Regions from separate parts of the Homo sapiens genome. Here all the other regions are linked to region 1. The links are contacts of gene promoters, found by promoter capture Hi-C in blood cells and fetal thymus (Javierre and others, 2016). All regions are on one chromosome and are shown on one strand. The core of a region is centred on a gene start or on the middle of the fragment in contact, and the rest is flanking DNA. Distances in the headings are between cores, read along the strand shown.

What was found. The method cuts DNA at HindIII sites, captures the fragments that hold promoters and counts their contacts. A CHiCAGO score of 5 or more calls a contact.
Region 2: a fragment that was not itself captured here is called in contact with the fragment with the promoter of ZNF341 in region 1 in 4 of 17 cell types (endothelial precursors, M2 macrophages, neutrophils and 1 more); the score reaches 8.9 in endothelial precursors.
Region 3: a contact is called between a fragment that was not itself captured here and the fragment with the promoter of ZNF341 in region 1, in 1 of 17 cell types (megakaryocytes). The highest score is 5.5, in megakaryocytes.

Annotation. Positions count from the first base shown.
Region 1 is chr20:33,730,240-33,734,052 of GRCh38, forward strand. ZNF341 (zinc finger protein 341) reads left to right here and starts at 1,757. Exons shown (of 15, transcript NM_001282933.2): 1 at 1,757-1,813. The coding sequence starts at 1,783. LOC124904890 (a long non-coding RNA gene) reads right to left here and starts at 1,744. Exons shown (of 2, transcript XR_007067569.1): 1 at 1,407-1,744. RefSeq lists enhancers at 1,328-1,387, 1,398-1,457, 3,126-3,813, 3,788-3,813 and a silencer at 1,568-2,277. The HindIII fragment of the contact is 12,577 bases long and covers 1-2,764 here.
Region 2 is chr20:34,122,826-34,126,638 of GRCh38, forward strand. It overlaps the pseudogene RPS2P1. Among named protein-coding and RNA genes, the nearest start is that of EIF2S2, 12 kb to the left of the region's middle. RefSeq lists a silencer at 1,869-1,938. The HindIII fragment of the contact is 6,261 bases long and covers 1-3,813 here.
Region 3 is chr20:33,378,309-33,382,121 of GRCh38, forward strand. It overlaps CDK5RAP1 (CDK5RAP1 mitochondrial tRNA methylthiotransferase), which reads right to left. Exons shown (of 14, transcript NM_016408.4): 8 at 1,153-1,383. Among named protein-coding and RNA genes, the nearest start is that of CDK5RAP1, 21 kb to the right of the region's middle. The HindIII fragment of the contact is 203 bases long and covers 1,553-1,755 here.

The DNA of each region.
Region 1 (3,813 bases), core at 507-3,006:
AGTTTCCCCCTCCCCTCTATGCACTCCCTAAACTCTTGCTTGTTTCCCAAGGGTACTTTGAAACCACTATCACACATTGATTATTGAGAAAGGGTCTCACTCTGTTGCCTAGGCTTGAGTGCAGTGGTGAGATCATAGCCCACTGCAGCCTCTACTTCCTAGGCTTAAGCAATTCTCCTGCCTCAGCCTCCTGAGTAGCTGGTACTCAAGTGCAAACCACCATGCCCAGCTACTTTTGTTGTTGTTGTTGAGACGGGGTCTCACTATGTTGCTCAGACAGGTCTCAAACTCCTGGATACAAATGATCCTCCAGCCTCAGCCTCCCAAAGTGCTGGGATTACAGGTGTGAACCACTGTGGCCGGCATACACATTGTAATTAAATAACCTTTAAGATTTAATGTCGGTCTTTTTTTTTTTTTTTGAGACAGAGTCTTGCTCTGTCGCTAGGCTGGAGTCTGTGGCACGATCTCGGCTCACTGCAACCTCTGACTCCCTGGTTCAAGCAATTCTCCTGCCTCAGCCTCCCAAGTAACTGGGATTACAGGCACGTGCCACCATGCCCAGATAATTTTTATATTTTTAGTAGAGACGGGGTTTCACTAGGTTGGCCAGGATGGTCTCGAACTCCTGACCTCGTGATCCGCCTGCCTCGGCCTCCCAAAGTGCTGGGATTACAGGCATGAGCCGCCGCGCCTGGCCTAATGTCGGTCTTTCTTCCCACCTCTAACTCCATGGGAAAGGACCACCATGTCTCTAGAGCTATTACGGGACTTGGTGCATAGCAGGCCGTTAATAAGCAGTTGATGGAGGATGAATGAAGATGAGAGGGGTCTGTGTGTGTAGGGGAAGTCCCAGTGAGGAGCACCTCTCATTCTGTGAGACCTGGATAGGACCCCTCGGAGGCTGGGCTAGGAGTGGCTGGGGTGGGTGTTGGGGGTTTATGTGACAGAAATGGGGTCCCAACAAGCAGGGATGGAGGGTGAAGAGATGGAGTTACTTAAGAGATAATGGGATCCCCAGCACGGAGACCCACGCCTGTAATCCCAGTGCTTTGGGAGGCCGAGACGTGAGGATCGCTGGAGGCCAGAAGTTGACACCAGCCTGGACAAAATAGTGAGACCCTGATCTCTACAAAAAAATAAAAATAAAAATTAGTAGGACATGGTGGCGTGTGCCGGTAGTCCCCGCTACTCTGGAGGCTGAGGCGGGCTCCCAACAGGCAGAGTTGAGCAGGGTAGTAGGGGCGGGAAGTCTCTAATAGGGGATGAGGGATGGGAATCTATGTTGTACAGCCTGGAGATCCCTGTGACAGTTGGGTGGTCTGGGTGAGATGGGATAGGGGTCATGGTTTGTTGCAGAGTCGGGGTATACTGTGCTCAGCGGAAATGGGGTCCGTGCAGCAGACCTGGAGGACTCACGTGCTGTGGGAATGGGGGATTCTGTGTCAGAGCTGGGGGGTCGGGTCCGGTGAGATGGGGATGCGGATTTAGATAATAGGGATGGGAAGTTCCGCGTGTGCGGCGGATATAAGGTCGGTGTAGACTTGGTCGTTCAAGTGAGGCGGGGTCCACACTCGGTGGCCCGGTGACTGGGTTATCGAGTGGAGCCAGGGCAGCCCAGAGATGCTGGGGTCCCGCGAGCCTAGGTTGGGTTTCCAGGGCTGGGGGCTCGGCGGCGGCTCCTGGGCGCCCCCTGGCGGCCCCGACTCAACCGCCACGGCTCCCACAATGCTCGCGTAGCCGGGCTTCGGTTCCTGTGGCGGCGACGGCGGCGGCTCCAAGATGGCGCAGGCGATCTTTGAGGCCCTGGAGGGTGAGCGGCGGCGGGGCCGGCGGAGGCGGCTGTTCCGCGCTGCGCCCCCTCCCGCCGCGCCCTCGCAGCGCCCGGCCTAGGGCGCGCAGCGGCCGCGGGGCGGAGGGCGCCGGGGCTGGAACAGCCGCGGGGCGGGAGGGGCGCGGGCGGGAACAGCGCGGGAGCCGAGGCCCGGCGGGGGAGCTCCGGGGCCGGAACAGCCGGGGAGAGCCAGGCCGGCGGGGAGGGGGCTCGGGTCCGGAACAGCGCCAGCCTGGGCGGCCTTGGGCGGGCGCGGGAGGGGCTCCCTGCAGGGAACTGCGCGGGAGGCGACGGCGGGGCGGTCTGGAACAGCCGCGGCCAGGGAGGCGGCTTGGCGGCGCGCGGGGCCCGGGACGGGGGTGCGGTCGCAGCTGCGGGCAGGAGGGCCTCGGCGGCCTGACCACGAAGAACTTCTGCGGAGCGGACTGTATGCCTCGTGCTAGGACGTAGTCTCAAAATCAGACCACAGCAGCAGAGGCGCCACCTGTGTGCACAGCCTGGACTCAGAGCTTAGGGACCCAAGCCAGCAAACACCTGGCGCCTGCAGTGCGCACCGTGGCCGGTGCAGTTTTACAAATTAAACTGACACCGTGGGTGCTGGCGCGGTGTGCCCGGCCGGGACGCGGTGTTCCCAGACCCAGGCCAGCAAACGCTGGGTGCCGACAGACTGTTCCGTGCTCTGCAAGAACCTGGGATGGGGTTGGTGCTCAGGCTCAAAACTGTGGGCTTTGGAGACAGCAAACACTGAGCACCTCCATGTGTGCATCTGCTGGGCGTCGGGGAGGAAGGGCAGCCTTAGCGACTCGGGGCCATGGCGCAGAATAGATATTGTGGGAAATACAGACCAAGAATGGTCTTGGAGGAGTGGGATGAGATGAGTATACAGATAGGGTGCAAACTCGAAGTACTGGACTGGCGGGATGAAGCTGAAGCTTTGAGTCCTGCAGCTTCCTAGGAGATCTCAGCCACTCCCTGCACTTTTTAATTTTTTGAGACGGAGTCTCACTCTGTCGCCCAGGCTGGAGTGCAGTGGCGCGATCTCGGCTCACTGCAACCTCCCCCTCCCAGGTTTGAGCGATTCTCGTGCCTCCGCCTCCTGAGTAGCTGGGACTATAGGCGTGCACCACCACACCCGGCTAATTTCCTTTTTTTTTTTTTTTTTTGAGACAGAGTCTTGCTCTGTTGCCCAGGCTGGAGTGCAGTGGAGCGATCTCGGCTCACTGCAACCTCCGCTTCCCGGGGTTCACGCCATTCTTCTGCTTCTTCTGCCTCAGCCTCGAGAGCAGCTGAGACTACAGGCATCCGCCACCACGCCCGGCTAATTTTTTTTTTTTTTTGTATTTTAAGTAGAGACGGGGTTTCACCGTGTTAGCGAGCATGGACTCGATCTCGTGACCTCGTGATCCGCCCGCCTTGGCCTCCCAAAGTGCTGGGATTACAGGCGTGAGCCACCGCGCCCGGCCATTTTTTTGTATTTTTAATAGAGACGGAGTTTCACCATGTTGGCCAGATTGGTCTTGAACTCCTGGCCTCAAGTGATCTGCCCGCCTCAGCCTCCCAAAGTGCTGGGATTACAGGCGTGAGCGACTGCTCCAGGACTCCCTTCACTTCTTGAAGGATCACAATTCGCACCAGGAAATGGGGGGCGGGGTAGCCCTGTCTCCATCTAGTGGGGTTCCGATTCAAAGACTGACTGAGACAGACACTCCCTGTAGTTTCTGCCCTGCAGTCTGGTAGAGGAGAGAAATTATAAAACAAGCAATTATAGAAATTATAGAATTATGGAAAAGGTCATGTAGAATAAGATGACCTCAGCTGGCCATTCCTACTGTGAATAACATAAGCAGGAGGTGGTGGATCAGGAAGGCCGAGGTCAGTGGTAGTTCCCTCCCAGAGGCCAATAGAATGGGGTGAGGCTTACTTTCTCTTTAGGCTGTTTGGACTTCCTCATTGTTTGAATATTTACTGCAAGAATGTGT
Region 2 (3,813 bases), core at 979-3,478, 390 kb after region 1:
CTGTGCGTTAAGTGCTCCAAGGAGGTGGCTACTGCCATCCGCGGGTCCGTCATCCTGACCAAGCACTCCATTGTCCCCGTGCGCAGAGGCTACGGGGGAACAAGATGGACAAGCCCACACCGTCCCTTGCAAGGTGACAGGCCGCTGCGGCTCTGTGCTGGTGCACCTCATCCCTGCACCCAGGGGCACTGGCATCGTCTCCGCACCTGTGCCCAAGAAGCTCCTCATGATGGCTGGTATTGATGACTGCCACACCTCAGCCAGGGGCTGCACTGCCACCCTGGCAACTTCGCCAAGGCCACCTTTGACACCATCTCTAAGACCTACAGCTACCTGACCCTCGACCTCTGGAAGGAGACTATATTCACCAAGTCTCCCTATCAGGAATTCACTGACCACCTCGTCAAGACCCACACCAGAGTCTCCATGCAGAGGACCCAGGCTCCAGCTGTGGCTACAGCATAGGGTTTTTATACAAGAAAAACAAACTGAATTAAGCCTGAAAAAAAAAAAAAAAGCTGGTCTCAAATTAGGGGCCAACATGGAAGAATTAATATCTGTTGAGTACTTACTAAGTGTCAGGCCCTATAGATGTTACATGCATTATCTCATTTAATACTCAACAACAGCCTTGTCAGGTTAAAAGTATTATACCCATTTTATAAACAGGTTAATGAAGGCTCAGAGAGTGTCAGTCACTTACCCAACATAACCCAGTGAGTAACAGAGATGGAATTTGAGCCCAAGTCTGTGTGAATCTGAAGCCCATATTATTTCTACTATGTTACAGTGCCTCTGAAAATATATTTAACTGTGCCTACTTCTAATAGAGTTTATGATAAATGATATATATTTGATGTTTATATATTTATATCAATTATTTTACTTCATCATTACAAGTAAGATAGACTATCTAGGGATGATTATCACCACTTTACAGATGAGGAAACAGATGGTCAGAAAATTTAACTTACCTAGCTTCAGACCAGTAAATGATAATAACAGGGCTTGGACACATGTACCGCAACTCTCAGACTCCTACTTTTTCCACATTGGCCTATGAGAGTAGAATTTTATCTATATTTTACCTATGAATTTTCTTTTTTTTTTTTTTTTTTTTTTTGGAGACGGAGTCTTACTCTGTCGCCCAGGCTGGAGTGCAGTGGTGCAATCTTGACTCACTGCAACCTCTGTCCCCCAGCTTCAAGCGATTCTTCTGCCTCAGCCTCCCAAGTAGCTGGGAGGGATTACAGTCGCCTGCCACTGTGCCTGGCTAATTTTTGTATTTTTAGTAGAAATGGGGTTATATCATCTTGGCCAGGCTGATCTTGAACTCCTGACCTCATGATCTACTCGCCTTGGCCTCCCAAAGTGCTGGATTACAGGCGTGAGCCACCTCGCCCAGCCATATCTATGAATTTTCTGGTTCTAACTTTTTTTAATAGGAGCAAAGAGTGGACATCTTGACAGTCTTGCACTTCTGTTTATGCTTGGACAGATTAAACACATATGTTTATCCCTGTTCACTCCCCAAATCACTGAAGTGACAGTGAGTTAACATTTTTAGGTTTACCAGTCTACAGACAAAGAGAATAAGAAAGAAATCAATAGCAGATTAAGGATATCAACAAATTTTTGGAAGATGGAAAACCATAGCTGAGCTGAGAAAACAATTCTAAATGTTTGCTGAGGGTTATACTAACAAGGGACAAACAGATTCGTACTGCAGAACACTAGAATGTCAGGACTGGGACAGAGCAGATCAGAGGTGATGTGAGAGGCAGAAGAGAGAGGGTTTGGCTGAAAGCCTTTATAGGAAGTGAAACTGCCAGGTCTTTTTCTCCATCCTACTCACTTAGACAACTACCCTTTCATCTCCCTAGCAGCCCCTGGGACAAAATTGAGGTAGAGAAGTTCCAGACACTGAGATACCAGGCACAGCTAAAGATATAATAGCAGGGAGGCTAAGGTAGGAGGATTTCAGACTGAAAACAGAGATTAGATGAATTGTCTACATGCTGAATGGTGAAGCGCACTCAGTCCTCCTGCTGAAATTTATTCCAGGAATGCTGACAGCAAGGCTTGTATTCTCCAGGCAAGATATCAGGGAATTAATTTTAATTAATTAACCCCAGAGGAAAGATCTATACATACTGATATTTGAGGTCCCCCAACAAAACACCTAGGTACCCACTTTATCATCCTACAGATAAACTTCCTGTTAACACAGAGCTTCCAAATACTTAGTGACTCACTCTTAAATATGAAGAGACAACAAAGGGTCACCAGATATTTAAGATAAACCTCCACCAGGAAAGACAGCATCAAATAGAGAAAAAAGAAACTCAAAGGGAACAGAAACTGAAGAGAACAGAAAAATATTTTTAAAAAACAATAAGCAGTCTATGAGAGATAATAGAAAATACTGCATCCATAAAGCAAAGATAAAATGCTCTAAAAAAAATAGAGTAAGTAACAGCTCTGGGGAATTAAAAATATAATAGAAAAATTGGCTGGGCATTATGGCTCATGCCTGTAATCCCAGCACTTTGAGAAGCCAAGGTAGAAGGATTGTTTAAAGCCAGGAGTTCAAGACCAACCAGGGCAATATTAGATAGACCTCTTCTCTGCTAAACATTCTTTTAAAAAGAGAAATTAGGCTTGGTTCAGTGGCTCACGCCTGTAATCCCAGCACTTTGGGAGGCCGAGGCGGGCGGATCACGAGGTCAGGAGATCGAGACCATCCTGGCTAACATGGTGAAACCCCATCTGTACTAAAAATACAAAAAATTAGCCGGGCATGATGGCGAACACGTGTAGTCCCAGCTACTAGGGAGGCTGAGGCGGAAGAATGACATGAACCCAGGAGGCAGAGCTTGCAGTGAGCCGAGATCACACTACTGCACTCCAGCCTGGGCAACAGAGCGAGACTCCATCTCAAAAAAATAATAAATAAATAAATAAATAAATAAATAATAAAAAAAGAAAAAAAATTAGCCAGCTGTGGTGGCTCATGCATGTGGTCCCAGCTACTTAGGAGGCTGAGTCAGGAGGGCTGCTCAAGCCCAGGAGATGGAGGCTGCAGTGAGCTATGATCATGCCACTGCACTCCAGCCTGGGCAATACAGCAAGACCTGTTCTCAAATAATAATAATAGAAAAATAAATAATTTATATAAGTCTTAATATATAAAGTTGAGGAAATCTCTCAGAAAGTAGAACAGAAATACAAATGGAAAAATAAAAGAGAAAAGATAATTAGAGGATGAATCCATAAGGTCGACCATTAGATTAACAGGAGTTCTGGAAATACAGAAGAAATGGAAGAAAATTATCAAAGAAACTGAGTTTCCAGAGTGGCAGAGCCTGCTGAGTGCCCAGCATAATGAAAGAAAACAAAACAAAGGAAAAACATTATGGCACATCATCATGAAATTTTTTAACACAAAGGATAAAGAGAAAATCAAAAATCTTGGTGATAGGAGGTGAGGAGGGGGCAGGGAAAGGGCAACAGGTTACTTATGAAAGAGCAGGTAATAGGAATAGCATTTTTGTCCATAGTAACATTAGTGGCTAGAAGACGATATAGGGAGGCTTTCAAAATTCTGAGAGAAAATACGTTTTCAATCTAGAACTCCTATACTAAGCCATATTATCAGTCAAGTATGAGGAATAAATAAGTATATTTTTAGGCATGCAAGGATCAGAAATTTACCCCTCATCCCCACATAACTTTTCTTAGGAAAGCACTGGAGGATTTGCTCTAGTAAAACAAGAAAGACAGAAAAAAAATCCTAAAATTTGTATGGAACAA
Region 3 (3,813 bases), core at 404-2,903, 350 kb before region 1:
GTCAGAACACACACATCATTTACCAATTTAGGTCACTTTCTTATGTGGGTGTGGCTCATGGTGTTCCGAAACAATTTTAAGAATAACATTAAATAGCACTGATCACAGATCACCATAACAGATGTAATAATAATGAAGTTTGAAATATTGTGAAAATTACCAAAATATGACACAGAGACATGAAGTAAGCACATGCTGTTGGAAAAATGGTGCTGACAGACTTATTCAGAGTTGCCACAAACCTTCCATTTGTTAAAAATAACTCCATAATATCTGCAGAGTGCAATAAAACAAGGTATGCCTTTGTATCTATTTCACAACAACCCAAAGCAGGAGGTAATTGTTAACCCCTTATTAACCCCATTTTACAGATAAAGATGAAAAGTTGAAAACATCACATGCTCGCTGGTAAAACAGTGGAAAAGCTGAGATTTGAACCCGGGTCTGAGGCGAAAGTCTGGGCTGTTTCCCAGAGCACCACATCACCTCCTTCCTGTCCACCCCACACCACCATTACCGCCCCACCACCATTATTACCACTCAGCTGCCCACTTTGTAACAAATCCTCTCTGTACAGCCCTCACGGTCCCGCAGGTGGTCTTAACCTCCCGCTGAATATCAGTCCTACCTCCACTCCCACCTTGGCAGACTTTTTTTTCGAGACAGGGTCTCGCTATCTCACCCAGGATGGAGTGCAGTGGTGCGATCTCGGCTCACTGCAGCCTCGACTTCCTGGGCTCATGTGATTCTCCCACCTCAGTCTCCCAAGTAGCTGGAACTACAGTCGTATGCCACCTCAGTCTCCCAAGTAGCCAGAACTACAGTCGTATCCCACCCCACCCAGCTAATTTTTTGTATTTGCAGTAGAGACGGGGTTTCGCCATGTTGCCCAGGCTGGTTTCCAACTCCTGAGCTCAAGTAATCCACCTGCCTCAGCGTCTCCAAGTGTTGAGATTATTGGTGTAAGCCCCGTGCCCAGCCACTGGTGGACTTCAAATCTTCAAAGGACCAGCAGATCTGGAGGGTGATGCAGCAATACCCCACAGGATCCCTAAGCAGGACTCCAGGTCTCTGCTGCATCCCTACTGGGTCCAGCCTTTGGCATGCTCAAGAATACTAATATCAGTTTGTCACAGCTAACCTGACGCTCACCTCATCAGGAAAATCCTTGGGGTGGGGAGAGGTAAAACGGATCCTCATTTCAGGATCTACTCTGGAGACCTGATCCAGAAGATGAGCAAAACGAAGTCCTCCTTGCTTGGTTTTATAGTTGGTGGTAAAGCCACGACTGAGATTGGTAGGCACTGCACTGTTGAACTGGACCTCCGAATTGTCCCGAAAACTATTAACATTCTGACCAAGAAGTGTCACTTCTTTCAGCCCCTAAACATGGGAAAATATATTGGAATTTTAAAACTTTTGGGTAGCTTCATAAAAAAACACTAATTAAAAATTAGCTGAAATTAACATATCTTTTGTTTTAAACAAAAGAAAAATCGAACCTACCAAGAGTCACCTATAAGTGTGTTGTGTCTATAACCGAATAATTTCAAGCTTAGACATCTTACCTAAAGAGCTAAACCTAATAAAGCCTTATATAAAAATTAATCTTCAAAACATTATTTAGAATCAAAACTGGAAACAAACTCAATAATCCACAATAATGGTTAATTTATGATAGATCTGTCATTTGAATGTTATACACCATGACTATATAAAGTATTCTCACCAGAAATATTTAACCTGAACTAATCAAGCTTTTACACCTAACTTCCAGTTACTAGAATTCACAGAGATATATTAAATGACAACATGAGGAAAAAATCAGACAAAGGAGACTCATGTCTGATCTCTTCAAAAAGTTAATGCATCATTTAAAGAAAACAACAACAACAAAAAATAAAAGAGCTGTTTTAGATTTTTTTCTTCTTCTTCTTGAGACAGGGTCTCCCTCTGTTGCCCAGGCTGGAGTGCAGCAGCACGATCATAGCTCACTGTAGCCTCAACCTCCCAGGCTTAAGCAGTCCTCCTGCCTCAGCCTCCCAAGTAGCTGGGACTACCTTTTTTTACTTTTGTAGAGATGGGATTTCACCATGTTGCACAGACTGGTTTTAAACTCCTAAACTCAAGCAATCCTCCCACCTCAGCCTCCCAAAGTGTCTGGCTTAAATAACTATTGATTTTCATACATATGATAATGATATCATGGTTATGAAGAGAAAAATTGTTACTCATAGAAGATACATACTGAAGTATCTAGGGGCAAGTGTCCTGAGGTCTACAAATTACTTCAAATGGTTCAGAAAAAATACATTTATGGGTGCATGGAGATAGGTGTATGACAAAATGTTAACAATCACGTTTTTCTATTATACTAGTCTTTCTATTTGTCTGTTTGAAAATTTATATTATAGGCCAGGTGCAGTGGCTCCCTCCTGAAATCCCAGTACTTTGGGAGGCCAAGGTGGGCGGATCACACGGTCAGGAGTTCAGACCAGCCTGGCTAACATGGTGAAATCCCTTCTCTACTAAAAATACAAAAAATTAGCTGGGCGTGGTGGCAGGCACCTAATCCCAGCTACTAAGGAGGGTGAGGCAGGAGAATCGCTTGAACCCAGGAGGCAGAGGCTGCAGTGAGCCGAGACCATGCCACTGCACTCCAGCCTGGGCAACAGAGCGAGACTCCATCTCAAAAAATAGAAATGTTATATTATAAAGTTTCACAAATAATGGTTGCTAAAAAAGACTTGTTTTGTAACTTTGACATAATTTACAGACAAACTGCAATATTAAAAGAATTCCCATATACTCTTTGCCCAAATTCATCAAATGTTAACACTGCACCCCATTTGTTTATCATTCACATTCAGACACTCATATACACTCTCTCTCAACACACATATGACTACATTTTTTTTAAGCCTTCTGAGAAAAAGTCACAGATATCATACTCTTTTACTTCCAAATATTTTAGTATATATTTCTTAAAAACAAGGGCATTCTCCTATATAATTTCAGGACAATTATCAAAATCAGAAATATTGATACAACACTATTATCTACTTTCCATAAATCAAATGTTACCAATAGTCCAAATAATGTTTTGTTGTTGTTGTTGTTGTTATTGTTGTTTTTTGAGACAGAGTCTCACTCTGTTGCCCAGGCTGGAGTGCACTAGCGTGATCTTGGCTCACTGCAATCTCCGCCTCCCAGGTTCAAGCGATTCTCCTGCCTCAGCCTCCTGAGTAGCTGGGACTACAGGCGTGTGTCACCACGCCAGGCTAACTTTTTGTATTTTTTAGTAGAGACGGGTTTTGCCAAGTTGCCCAGGCTAGTCTCAAACTCCGGAGCTCAGACAATCTGCACACCATGGTCTCCCAAAATGCTAGGATTACAGGTGTGAGCCACCACGCCCAGCCCAAATAATGTTCTTTATAACATTTTTTTCCCTGATCAGAATCCCAATCGAGGACCGTGCGATGCATTTAGTTGTCATAACTCCAGTCTCCATAAAGGCTATTTATTTGTGTAAGTTGTGACATACTGTTAATCTAAAAAGCAGGATATACTAAATGCAATGTGGATCCTAGATTGGATCCTGGAAACGAAGTAAGACATTAGTGGAGAAACTGGCAAAATCCAAATAAAGTCTGAAGAGAGTTAATAGTAACATACCAATATTAATCTCTTAGTTTTTGCTTTGTTTGTTTTGTAATAGAGACAGCAGCTCCCAGTGTTGCCCAGGCTGGTCTTGAACTCCTACGCTCAAGGCACCCTCCTGCCTTGGCCTCCCAAAGTGCTGGGATTACAGCA